Linked DNA regions of Homo sapiens: region 1 is linked to region 2. The links are contacts of gene promoters, found by promoter capture Hi-C in blood cells and fetal thymus (Javierre and others, 2016). All regions are on one chromosome and are shown on one strand. The core of a region is centred on a gene start or on the middle of the fragment in contact, and the rest is flanking DNA. Distances in the headings are between cores, read along the strand shown. Region 1 has its middle 12 kb from the start of SFRP2. Region 2 holds the start of DCHS2 (dachsous cadherin-related 2).

The links. The method cuts DNA at HindIII sites, captures the fragments that hold promoters and counts their contacts. A CHiCAGO score of 5 or more calls a contact.
Region 1: a contact is called between a fragment that was not itself captured here and the fragment with the promoter of DCHS2 in region 2, in 1 of 17 cell types (endothelial precursors). The highest score is 6.2, in endothelial precursors.

What each region holds. Positions count from the first base shown.
Region 1 is chr4:153,798,149-153,804,254 of GRCh38, forward strand. No RefSeq gene overlaps it. Among named protein-coding and RNA genes, the nearest start is that of SFRP2, 12 kb to the left of the region's middle. The HindIII fragment of the contact is 5,199 bases long and covers 903-6,101 here.
Region 2 is chr4:154,489,200-154,496,219 of GRCh38, forward strand. DCHS2 (dachsous cadherin-related 2) reads right to left here and starts at 2,600. Exons shown (of 20, transcript NM_001358235.2): 1 at 105-2,600. The coding sequence starts at 2,156. RefSeq lists enhancers at 428-1,384, 1,385-2,340, 1,809-1,948, 1,999-2,178, 2,981-3,030. The HindIII fragment of the contact is 6,491 bases long and covers 1-5,745 here.

The DNA of each region.
Region 1 (6,106 bases), core at 2,252-4,751, 690 kb before region 2:
TATAGGAGTTTCCCATAGGAACAACTATAGGAAATCAAAGCATTACCAAGAAGACATAGCACAGAAAATGTGCTTTAAAAATCTTCTTATATTATAGATCTGAGAAAGAGAATGCTTACAAAAATGTAACCTGGGGGAGTAAAGCACTTTTAAGAAAGAAAAGTACTTTCTGAATTAACTTTCTTTAATCAAATAAAATCCTTGAGCCAACTGAAATGTGATGGGGCTGTAGCTAGGGATACACATTTATGATATATTTGTATAGCATGCATTACTGGTCCTCATGAATTAAATTTTCTTTTTGCATTTCGCGGTGATCCAGCTATGAAAATATGTTCATGAAATGTAAACTGCCAGGAGATTAGATAAATACCATAGATTGAGGGAAGGAAGATAAAGGAACCCTCCAAGATATTTTGTTGCTCTTGTTTTCTGTGGAACAAGGAATGGCAAAAAGAGGAAGAACATGCTTCAACACTCCCCAGGGGAGGGCAGTCAGAGTCTTATCGTCAGAGAGGGGGAAATGAGGATTGCAGATGTTTTCTTAAATTCTCTTCTTCAGCATTGTTACAACCAAAGAAAGCAAATCCTGTGATTTAATTTCAGATATATATTTGGTGCTGGGACATATCAGTGTCCCTTAGGCTGATATCTGGGACAGGCTGATAGGAAGAACTCAAATTGTGTTCAAATCTGGTTTCACTACTTTCCAGCTGTGAGATCCTGAACAAATCATGTAAACTCTTCATGCCTTAGTTTCCTCATCCATAAAATGGGGTTAATAATAGCACCTAGCGAGGATTAAAAAAGAAAAAGCACTTAGGAGAAGTACATAGTGTTTTCTGTGTGTGTTATTTTTATTTCATCAGGTATACAGTAGTGTAGCCAACTCCACCCACAGAAGCTTCCTCTGGGAACTTATCGTGCAGATGTAATGCGGTGTTAGGAGACTTACCCAGGTCATAAATAAAGTCCCAAATCATTAGCAGAGTTGGAGTGCTGCTCTGCTGTTAAGGATGGGGCTGGGAATGAACTCCCAGTATCATCCCAGGCAGGGAAGGATGTTAAGGATGGGGCTGGGAATGAACTCCCAGTATCATCCCAGGCAGGGAAGGATGTTAAGGATGGGGCTGGGAATGAACTCCACAGCATCATCCCAGGCAGGGAAAACAAATCTGACTCACATTTTGTTGCATGTTCAAAAGAAAATCAGGCTCACTAAATTAAAAAGAGATCTAATTATTTAAAAAATGTTGTTACTGTTGTTGGAATTTGAATTTTAAATCAAAATTATATTGCAAAATAGATGACAAGTAGTTGAAATATTAACTGAGGGAAACAGTTTTGGCACTCCAAGAAAAACCCTTGTAATTAATCTTCACTGGTAATCTCCTCAGGCTAACCATTACTAATTAGAAACATGTTTTGTCAACCCATCCAGACTTTAAGCCTGGTGATGGTAGGAGTATATTTTTTTGTACTGCCATAGCCCCAAGACTGAGTAGTATGCTTTGCATACAGCAAATGTATAATCAATGAAGTTTGTTACTACTTTGCACTGAGGGCTAAACATAACATCATACACTTAAGGCAAACACAGAACAGAAGGCTTTTCCTGGGATGGAGCTATTCTCTTTTCCAATCACGTGCTGTTGTTGAGAGACCATCTATGTGGAAAGAGTGATTTGGTTCTGACAGTGTGAGCCACAACATCTGGAGTCTGGCCCTCCACCCCAGGCCTTGACCTTCTCAGTCAGAAACAGTAGATAAATAGTGCCTGTAGAGAAATGATTTAATCAGCAAAAAGATGCAACCTTGTAAAATCCACGAGGGCAACATGACTAGTGTTTTACAGATAAGTTCATACTGAGTATCATTCTTAGCATAAAGGCATTTACAGTCTTTACTTGATAAGTTATCAGAAGAGGCTTCTGTGCTTTGGGTGCAGATGATATAATTCTCAGCTTCCCATTCCTACCTGCTCTACTTTGCTGACCGACACGGTTTTATTAACCATGCCCCTTCCTACTCTCTTAGAAGGCTGGCATGCTTACAGGTGCTCTCTTAATGTGATTCAGACTTTGTGTTACTTTTTTTTTATTGTGGTAAAATACACTGTATGTTAACATAAAATTTACCATTTTAACCTTTTTAAATTTTTTTTAAATTTTTTATTTTTTAAAGAGACAGGGTCTTGTTCTGTCACCCAGGCTGGAGTGCAGTGGCATGATCATAGCTCACTGCAGCCTCAAACTTCTGGGCTCAGGGGATCTGCTTGCCTCAGCCTTCCGAAGTGCTGGGATTACAGGCATAAGCCATTGTGCCTGGCCCCATTTTAATCATTTTAAAGTGTACAGTTCAGTGGCATTAAGTATATGTGTCCACTTTAAAAATCAAAATATTATTCACATTTTGGGGCATTTACTACTTATTAACACTTTTACCAAAGGAAAACCTGGCACAGAAGAGCAGGGACACCCTTATCACATAATGAGTTCTCTCAGCAGCAGCTGATTGTAAAATGAGTTGGTAGAGTAGGAATTAGAATTTATTGACTAAAGCAGAAATGTTGTGTTAGCCGTAGCCATTATTCTTTTTTTTTGATTTCTCGACATTTTTATTAATTATTTTGTTTTTTTACAGCTTGATCCTCTTATGAAAAGGAAAGAATTTAAAGATGAACAATTACATTTTTGTTTAAACGGCAATTAATCCTTATTACAGAGAACAAAAGATCTGTGGCACATTGTCTTTGGAAAGATCTTTTGCAGATTTTTCTTCTAAAACAACTATAATTCTCTCACAGATCACATATTCTCTTTCAAACGACTATACAAGGCAGCTACACTTTATTCACAAAGCCCCAAGTTGCAGTTCCATTGCTGAAGCAGGTAAAATACATGGAGTTCCCCTTAATTTGTGTTGCACATCTTCCCATTGAGAGCATCACTGCTTCCCTACCCTATGTACAAAATCATTGTGTTGATGATAGCTGGCACGTTATTCCACAGTAATTAAAGAAAAACTCATTATTTTAAAGCTAGACCATTGATTTTCATTTATCAACTGGAAAATTTACTCCTTTTTAAAACAATTTTAATAATACCAAGATTTGACTTTCCTCCAAAGTTATAAGAAAGCAAAAAATATATAATATAATATAATATAATATAATATAATATAATATAATATAATATACAATGGTAATAAAAAAAAGGCAACCTTGCTCAGGTATCACCCAAAACATGATCACATTCAGAAAAAAAAAATTAAAACAAGATTTGGGACACATGCGTGCGTACATACATACACACACACACACACACACACACCCCAACATGAACAGTGTATACTCGATATCTGAGGGGGATGTGCAGTAATTTTAACAATACATGTTGATGGCCTGAACGAAAGGTGAAGTTAATACTGCCTGTGTTAAGCATTGCTTAAAAAATCTACTTTTAAGCAAAGCAAGTTGTCTTCCTTAGGTCAGCCACTGCCTGGTCCAACCAGTGCAGTTTGGCCAGCCTCACTATGAGTGGTCTTATTCCCTTGTCCTCTCCAGGCCGATATACTAATATATAGGCTCACAAGGAGCTGTAGGGTTTCCCTCCTGCCCTCTTAGGTAGAGAAGTATAGGCACTTCTCTACCCAGTACAGTGCCTGCTGATCTCAGACGCTCAGTGGAACAGAATATAGTGTCATTTCCCCCTGACAATAAGAAATTTATAGCCATCTGAAGAAAAGCAGTAGTTGGTATTTGTCAACTCACCATAAATAAGAACTGAAGAACATGGTCAGTGCTCACAATTCATGAAGAGATGAACACTCTAAGTCACCGAGAAACCAACACAACTGGATTGCATATTTGAGGTTCACATGGTGGCGATACCACTTGCAGTGTTTGAAAGAAAACCCCTAACACTATGCTATTCTGCCGTTACACCTCCTTCCAATAGAATGACACAAAATAAAGGCACAGGAAAAATACCTTACATCCGTTAATCCTAAGTGGGACCCAAAACAAAAGAGGCAACTGGCTCAAGAACAGGAGGGGAAAAAAGGTACTGCCATAATTGATCCTAGCATCCCTTCATGGCTGCAATGCGTAACTCTCACTTTTCAGTGAGAAAAATCTATACTCTTGTGTTTCTAAAGGAAGCACAAAATATTCTTGCAAGATTTAAATACTGCTAATCAGTGGCAAAGAGTGTAAACAGATGAAATGGCAAAGTTTAAAAGTTTTTTGTTTGGGAAAATAAAGAATCTGTGGTAGGAAGCAAGCAGGTTTAAGTACATTAAAAACAAACAAACAAACACAAAAAAACCGAAAGCCTGGCCTCAGGCCTTAATCTACTTTAAGATGGATGAATACAACTCAAACTTCATAAAGCAGAGGAGTAAAAGGTGCAAGAGCCATGTAGCATCCCTGAAGCCAACCATAGCCATTATTCTTGCTATTCTTTTCTCTCAACAGAATTGGTTAGACTTGCTAATAACTTCACAGAGATCACAGCTCTCTAAGCTGAGTGATTCTTTAAAATGAACACAGTTAGAAGTGGATCTGTAGACCTTTAAGCCAGGTGGAAAATTCTGGAATACTGTTTTCCTGTGGTAACTGCAGTTTTTGAAAGACCACCTCACCTTTCCGTGACTCTGACGGTAGAGACAGGGCGACATCACCTTCCTTCCTACCTGGAAAGACAGTCCTCAGTCCTTTTTCTCTCGTTTGGTAGGAGCCAATCTGTGCTTTAAGGCCTATTTCAAACATTTGTGTCCAAAAAGTAGGGCAAAGATGATGGCAGCAGTAAGACAGCATGCGCTTGAGAAATTTAGGAGCCAAAGGAAGGAGGGGACAGAGGGAGTCAAGTGAAAGTCTTTAAATATGCTTTTGTTTTCATTTTAATTTCTAGATAGGAGAGTATATTTGATGATGGAAGTGATAATTCTCTTCCGTGAGGAAATCAAAGTTTGTAGAGAAAAATGATAGAATCTAAATGTTGGAAGCCAGCTGGTCTATTCTCCACCCAGTGTTATGTCCCTGATGGGGAATCCAAATTTCTCCTGGACGCACACAGGGATGGGGAGCTCCCTCTTGAGCTATTCTCAAGATTACCTAACTCCCTTCACTGTCTCCTGCATTCACCAAGCAACCCTGATCTAGGGAAAGATACTGTATTAATTTGCTAAGGCTGCCATAAGACAATAACTACAGACAGTGTGGCTTAAACAGCAGAAATTAATTTTCTCACAAATCTTGAGGGTAGAAGTCCAAGATCAGAGTGCTGGCAGGGTTAGTTTCCTCTGAGTCCTTTCTCCTTGGCTTGCAGATGGCTGCCTCTTGTTGCCTCATCACAGGGTTGTTCCTCTGTATAAGCACATCCCTGGTATCTCTCCCTCTTCTTATTAGCACACCAGTCATATTGGATTAGGACCCAACCTCAATGACCTAATTTTAATTTAATCACCTCCTGAAAGAGTTTATCTTCAAACATGGTTACATTCTGAGGTACTGGGAGTTGGGATTTCAATATACAAATTTTGGGAGGTAGAGGACACAATTCAGCCCCTAAGAGATGCTCTGGATGGAGTCATACCAGGACACTCCAGTGAGCCACAGAAATCTTGCAGATGTGCTGAGATATCGATTCCTTTAGTCTTTGAGGTGGCTGTTTAGGGTGAGGGGCTACTGGGCACCAAGAGGAGCTGCCAAATTTACTCCAGTGTATCTTTCAAAGATCAACATTTCTATTAGTGGCACAATGCAAAAAATACTGTGAAGCACTGGTGGAAGACCCATATATTCCAGCAACTATAACGATTATGTTTATTATTCTAAATTAATATGTTGTCTCGCAAAGCGGACATGAACACTCATCACCACTGTTATGCAGTGTAAATGTAAGATAGGATTTATTTGGAGGACAAAACTTAAAGCAGAGAAGTGCATAGGAACCTCCAAGCTCTCATGATCCCACACAGAGACACACTTAGGCTAGGCCCAGCTGGAATGGTTGTATCATGAATGGACCCACCCTGTCTTAGTCCATTTGTATCACTATAACAGTATACCACAGACTGGGTAGTTTATAAAGAAAAGAAGCTT
Region 2 (7,020 bases), core at 1,350-3,849:
GAGCCGGAATATTATCCTCCACATCACAATTTCCTAGGCCAACTCACAACCCTCTCCATCCCTTCCCAAGCCTTCAGGTTGGCCCACAGGCCTGATGCACTCACCTGCAGAAAGCAGTGTCCAACCGGGGCATGCTCTGCAATGGTGGCATTGTACACCTGCCTCCAGAAGATGGGCTCATTGTCATTCACATCATCTACGGTGATGCTCACCAGGCAGGTGGCAGAGAGTGGGGGCTCTCCGAGGTCCTGGGCCACCACTTTCAGCTCCACCGCCTCCTGGACCTCTCGGTCTAGAGTCCGGATAGTGCTGATCGCACCGCTTTCGGAATCAATGGCAAAAGATGGTCCACACTCTGCGGTGTGGACCATCTTTGATTGCAGGGAGCCGAGATTGCAGGGAGCCGAGAGTTGGACTACAGTGTAGCGCAGCCAGGCGTGATCACTGCCTGCCTCGTCGGCATCGGAGGCGCTGACCCACATGACTACAGTGCCAGGGGCCGCGGCCTCGGACACTGAGGCCTTGTAATGCTGTTGGCTGAAGAGAGGTGGTTGGTCATTGAGGTCAGCGACCCGGAGTAGCAGCGTCTCCTCCGTGCTCAGCGGCGGGGACCCCGCGTCCGTGGCCACCAGTAGTAACTCATACAGATCGCGGCTCTCTCTGTCCAGGGGCCCCTCCACGCAAAGGAAAAATACCCCTGGGGGGCCGCCGGGTAGCAACGCGAAGTCTCCCTCTCCGCCTTCCAAGGACAGAGAGATGCTCCCGTCTCCAAGACCCACACCAAGCTCCCCTGTGGCCTCATCTTCCTTCTCCCAGTCACCGTCCGCGTCAGACACCGAGACGCGAGCCACGTAGTCGCCCGGTCGGGCGCCTTCAGAGACACGGGCGACGCCTCCCTCTGTGAGAAAGAGCACGTGAATTGCTGGCCGGTTGTCATTCACGTCCAGCACGGCGATGGACACGCGCACCGTGGCAACCTCAGGCTCGGCGCCTCCATCGCGGGCCTCCACCACCAACTGGTGCCAGGCCTGTGCCTCGCGGTCCAGAGGTCTCCACACTCGCACCACGCCGCTCAGCTCCTCCACCGCGAAGTAGGCCGCGTCGCCCAGTGCCCCGCCGCCGCTACCCGCCCCAGGCACTTGCCGGGCGCGGACGCTGTAGCGCACGAAGCCATTGGGCCCCAGGTCGCGGTCGGTGGCGCGCACGCGACAGACCTCGGCGCCCGGCTGGGCGTCCTCGCGCACCGCGGCGCGGTACTCGTCCTGCTCAAAGACCGGCGGGTTGTCGTTCTCATCCAGCACGCGCAGCTCCACGCTCAGGAGGCCGGTGCGCCGGGGTCGGCCGCCGTCCCATGCCTCGATCTGCAGCCGGTGCGCCGCCGCCTCCTCTCGGTCCAAGCGCCGCAGCAGCACCAGATCTAGAGGCTCCAGGGGTGACGAGGAGCCTGGCAAAAGCGGTGACGGTAGTGGCCCCGGAGTCCGGTAGCGCAACTGGAAGAACGGGCCTGCGGGGTCCTTGGGCAGGTCGGACGGTTGCACCAGGGTGTAGCCCTGAGTGCTGAACAGTCCGGCGTCCGGATCGTGGGCAACTGGCAGGCGGAAGGCGGTCCCTGGCGGGCTGAGCTCGGAGACGTCGAGTTGCAGGGAGTCGAGGGGAAAGCGGGGCGAGTGGTCATTCACGTCGTTGACGCGAATCTCCACCTGCACCACAGCGCCCAGCAGCGTGGCGGCGACGAAGCTGTAGTGGTCCCGCCGCTCGCGGTCCAGGCGCCGCGCAGTGCGGATGATGCCGGTGTCCGGGTGCACGTGGAAGTCGTCCAGCAGCGGGGAGTCATCGGAGTCCTCCGACAGAAAGAAGCCGCTCCCCTCCTGCTGCTGCGCGGCCGGCAGCCCGGCGCGGATGTCACCTACCAGCGTGTCCGGGGGAAGCCCCTCATCTACGGAAAGGGTGAGGTTGAACAACTGGGCAGAGGAGCCCGAGGCCGCCCACAGCCACACGTGCACCAAGAGCCAGAGCAGGGAGCGCTGCGTCCTGGCGCCGCTGCTGCCTGACCGCCCATGGGGTGTATCTCTCCTCCCGGGGAGCAGAAGGAGCTTCCCGACCGGAGCCCGCCGCTGCTGACGCCCTTCGCCCATCTTCCGCCCACAAGGGCTCATTTCTCCTCCAGCTCCTTGGGAAGGCTCTCGGGTAACTGCCAGCTTGTGGCAGGATCGCAGAAAAATCCAGGAGCCTCTTCAGTGTCTGAGCCAGAGAAGAAAAGACTTTGTTTGGCAAACAAACCGACGGCCCAGGAATTCCCGAGGTTACATCTGCAACTGGTGAAAGCGTCCTCTGCCTGCAGCTCACGCAGACAGGGAAGTAAGCTCTAGCTGCCTCTGCCGCGGCAGCCACCTCTTCTGCCCCTGGATTTCTTTAAACGAATCTCATCTCTTTTTCTCTCTCCTTTTATTCCCTTTACATCTGTTCCTTGTTCTACTCGGCTGGTTGTTCCCCCCTGGTAAAGTCAGGTGCATTATTTCTTTTGCCAAAAAGGAGGAGATTATATGAAGCGCGCACACACAAGGAGAGGATGGGGATCTGGCCGGAGTAGGGGGTGGAGTAAGGGCGTGGAGGCAGGGAGTCAGGGCGCTGGGGAGGAGGGAGAGAGGGAGGGGGGAAGGGAGGTCTGCGGCCCTGTCCGCTGCTCCGGGGGCGGGGCGGTGGTTCCCCACTGTGTCTCCGGGCGCCAGGGACCGCGCGACTCCTGCTCCGACCCAGCCTCCGCCGCCTGCCTTCCCCTCCCTGCCGTGTGATGCGGCGCACACGAGGGCAAACTCCAACCTGCGAGCCGCGCTCTGCAGCAGGGCGGAAGAGGAGCAAATGCAAAAGCACTGGGAGACGTGCACCGCGGGGCGGGTGGGGGACGCGCAGGCGGGGCGTCTGCCTGGGCTTGGCCAAGTGCCAAGTGATGATGGGTGCGGGGAGGTGAGAGGAGCGGCCTCTCCGCGGCCTCCCCCTCCATCCGCTTGACCGTCCCTCTGCAGGCCTGACTCTTGGCTCGCGCTGAGCCAAGAGGGTAGAGGTTATCATCACTTTGGGGTGCCAAACTTGTGTTCTCCATTTGGCGAGAGGGACTCCCGTCCGCAGCGGAAGGACAGATGGAGTCAAAGGCCGATGCATAGCTGGGGCCAGGATGGCTTTAAAGGGGAGAAGGCGGAACTTGGAAAAGCCTTCCAGAAAACCCGAGAAATCTGTGGCACACATGGTGCAAACCACACTTTATTATGCGTGCTACTACCCAGCGACGTGTGAGCCTCTTGTCACTCCCCTCTGCCACCAGGAATGACGACAATATATCCGCCCTGAGAACCCTTTTTCTACATTCAGCGCCATCATAACACTTCCAGGATGTCTGACGATGCTGACTGATGAGCAGAAAGCCCTGGTGGCTGACACCCCGCAAGCCCTCAGCGCTCCCCCACCACCCCTAGGCAAGGAAGTGTGCAAGCGGGATAACTCTACGGATACCACTTTCAAAACTAGCTTCTGTCTGAGCCGAACGCAAATGCCAATAAATAGCCATAGTCGCAGATTTCCCTTCAATTAACTATAATAATCGGTAGAAACTGATCAATGGCCTCTAATAAAGTACGCCTGAGAAAAGACTCTCTGGACTCTTAAAAATGGCTGACCATATTTAGCAAGTGGTTTCTGCAATTTTGCATTTGGGCCTGAGAGAAGAATTAATTTCCTAGATACCGTTTCTCTCCTTTAGGGAGGACCAAAAGCCCTGCATAGTGGTTTCTTGCAGCAACAACAAAATGCCTTTTTAAATGTGCAACGGAGGTGTATGTAATTGCTAATCCACAGCCACACCGTTATCTCTACCTGTGACCAAATAACAATAAAATAATTGACTTTGTAGCATATATGTTACCGAAAATGGGGACATTATTAAAATAAATTCAGCTTTCTTTCCCCCAATGAACTCTCTTTAACCATTAAAGAGATTTGTTATGAGTCTTTAGAGTCTTTTTATCTTCAGTCTCTGCATTTGCACCCTAACTAGTCCCTCCCCTCCCACTCTTGCCCCTTTATAAGTAATTCTTTTCTGTTTTTGCTATTGTTGTTGTTGTTGCTGTTTTGTTTTCTGAGTCAGGATCTCACTCTGTCACCCAGGCTGGAGTGCGGTGGTGCAATCATGGCGCACTGCAACCTCATGGACTCAAGTGATTCCATCACCTCAGCTTCCAGAGTAGCTGGGACTATGGGTGCCCACCACTATACCTGGCAAATTTTATATTATTTTATTAATTTATTTGTTTATTTTTTTTACTTTTGTAGAGATGAGGTCTCACTATATTGCCCAGGCTCGTCTCGAACTCCTGGGGCCAGTCTTCCTGCCTAGGCCTCCCAAAGTGCTGGGATTACAGGCTTGAGCCACCGCAACCAGCCTATAAGTAATTCTTGAACAAGCATCTGGATTAATGTTTTTAAAGCTGTCTCAAATCATATTACCTCCTGCTTAGAACCTGAAATGATTCCATTATACTTAGATTATAATTCAGACTCCTTCAATCAAGCTCCTTTTAGTAGTACAGGATCCTATCCATCTTTCTGACCTTGCCTCATACCACCACTCTGGACTCAGCCATCTGCCTTCTTTTTGATCTTGTACCTTTGAATTGTTAGAACTTTCCATGCCTGGGAGTTCTTTTTTCTGCTTTGGAAAGAGCTAGCTCTTTCTCATTCAGGTCTCAACTCCAATGCCCTCTGTTAAGAAAGATCTTCCCTAATTACCCTATTTCAGATAGCCTTTCTACTATAAATGCTATATCCTTTCAGTATATTTCATTCACAACACCTATCAGCATCTGAAATCAACTTGCTTTTTTCATTTGTTTATTAGATTATTACAACCTCAAAACCTTCATTCTGCTTTATCTCAGCACCTAGAACAGTACCTAGCATGTAGTGTGTCTCTATTTACTAAGTATGTGTTGGACAGACGGTTGGTTGAACCTATGGGTAAGTGAATGCATTTGTCTGTTAAAGTAGAAGTTGGAAGCCATAACCAAGAATGAATTGGCCATGAGAATCTTCACTGTAATGAATTATGTCTTTGCAATCTTACTCATCTTAATTATTTCATAGGACTTCTTGAACTTATTTTTCAGCTTCGTCAACTTACTTTGTAAACCATTGTATTAGTCTGTTCTTGCATTGCTGTAAAGAACCTGAGACTGGGTAATTTATAAAGAAAAAATGTTTAATTGGCTCATGGTTCTGCAGGCTGTACAGGAAGCATGGTGGGATCAGTTTCTGGGGAGGCCTCAGGAAACTTACAATCATAGCAGAAAGTGAAGGGGAAGTAGGCAGGAGGAAGAAAATGAATGGGGAGGTGCTATACACTTTTAAACAAACACATCTCATGAGAACTCACTCACTCTCATGAGGACAGCATCAGGGAATGGTGCTAAAGCATTCATAAGAAACTGCCTCATGATCCAGTCACCTCCCACCAGGTCCCACCTCTAACACTGGGGATTACCATTCAACATGAGATTTGGGCAGGGACACAGATCCAAACCATATCAACCATATTGTTAACAAATATTTACTTGAGTCTAAAAATAAAGGAAAAGAAGCATCTTTTACTGCATCTTTCACTGACACATTCTTTGTAAACAGTGGTTTAGTTTAGAAACAGTGGAAAACAAATGGAAAATCAAGAACCTCAGACATCTATTTTCCTATTAGTTCTAAAGCTTTATATCTCCAGCATGTACAATTCAAGGTCTCCTGTCCATTTCACAATTACCCTTCATTGAATGTCCTGAATATCCTTAATTATAGAATTAAGAATTCAATTTTGTAAAGTAAGAGAAATAAGAGCATTTCTCAGATATGTGAAAAATAATTTTAGATAATACAGAAGCCAACAGCCTGCAAGAAATAGGTCAAGGTCTGATCCTTGTAAGCGAAGCATCATGGCGTAACTGGCCAGAGTTTTAGCTTTAAAGTTGGAAAATCCTTATTCTGCTCTATAATTTGGGGCAAGTTATTTAAATCTTAAGCCTTAGAGTTTCCTCCTTTCTAAATTGGGGATGATACATCTAATTTACAGGGATGTCATGGGCCTTAAATGAGGCAATATATGTGGATTGGTACCTAGAATGCATGTGGTAAATTGTATTTTTCTTGCCCTCTGGTGTTTGTATGATGAAATGTTTTAGGAGTGAATTATTTTGGAATTCTCAGTAATATCAAACTCCGACTTCTTAGCCCCCCAGAAGGTGTGAAGGGGGAGGATATAAAATTCCCACTATCTGGCTGGATGCAGTGGCTCATGCCTGTAATCCCAGCATTTTCAGAGGCCAAGGCAGGAGGATTGCTTGAGCCCGGGAAGTAAAAACCAGCCTAGGCAATGTGGCAAGACCTTCTCTCTACAAAAAAAAAAAAAAAAAAAAAAAATTTAAAAATAGCCAGGCACGCTGATGCATACCTGTAAGTCCCAGCTACTCAGGAGGCTGAGATGCCAGGATGGCTTGAACCCAAGACATTGAGCTGTGTCATTGCCACTGCACTCCAGCTTGGATGACAGAGCGAAAGCCCATCTCAAAAAAAAAAAAAAAAAATCCCCAGTATTGTAAACAGAAACTTGGACAAAAAGGCTCAAGGCATTTCTTCACTTTGTGTTATTCAGTTTAAGTAACACAGGAAGTCCCTCTTCAGAAACATTTTCCCTCAGACTGTAGGTAGCCCTCAGCTTTGTGATAGTTAATTTAAATAGTGTAGTTGCTAAGTGCTCAAAGCAGGGTTCAAATCACCTCACGTCAACCTTTTAGGAAAGGAGTTATAATTAGTATTCCCATCTTACAGATGAGGAAACTGAGGTTCAGGAGCATTGCAAGTCATGTGGCCAAAGTCCCACAGGTAGTAGAATTGGAACCTGAACCCAGTTTTGCTCCAGTGTCCACGGTGTTCACTGGTCATTTATTGTCTTCATGATTTTCTTTAATAAGATTGTCTTCTTCTGAA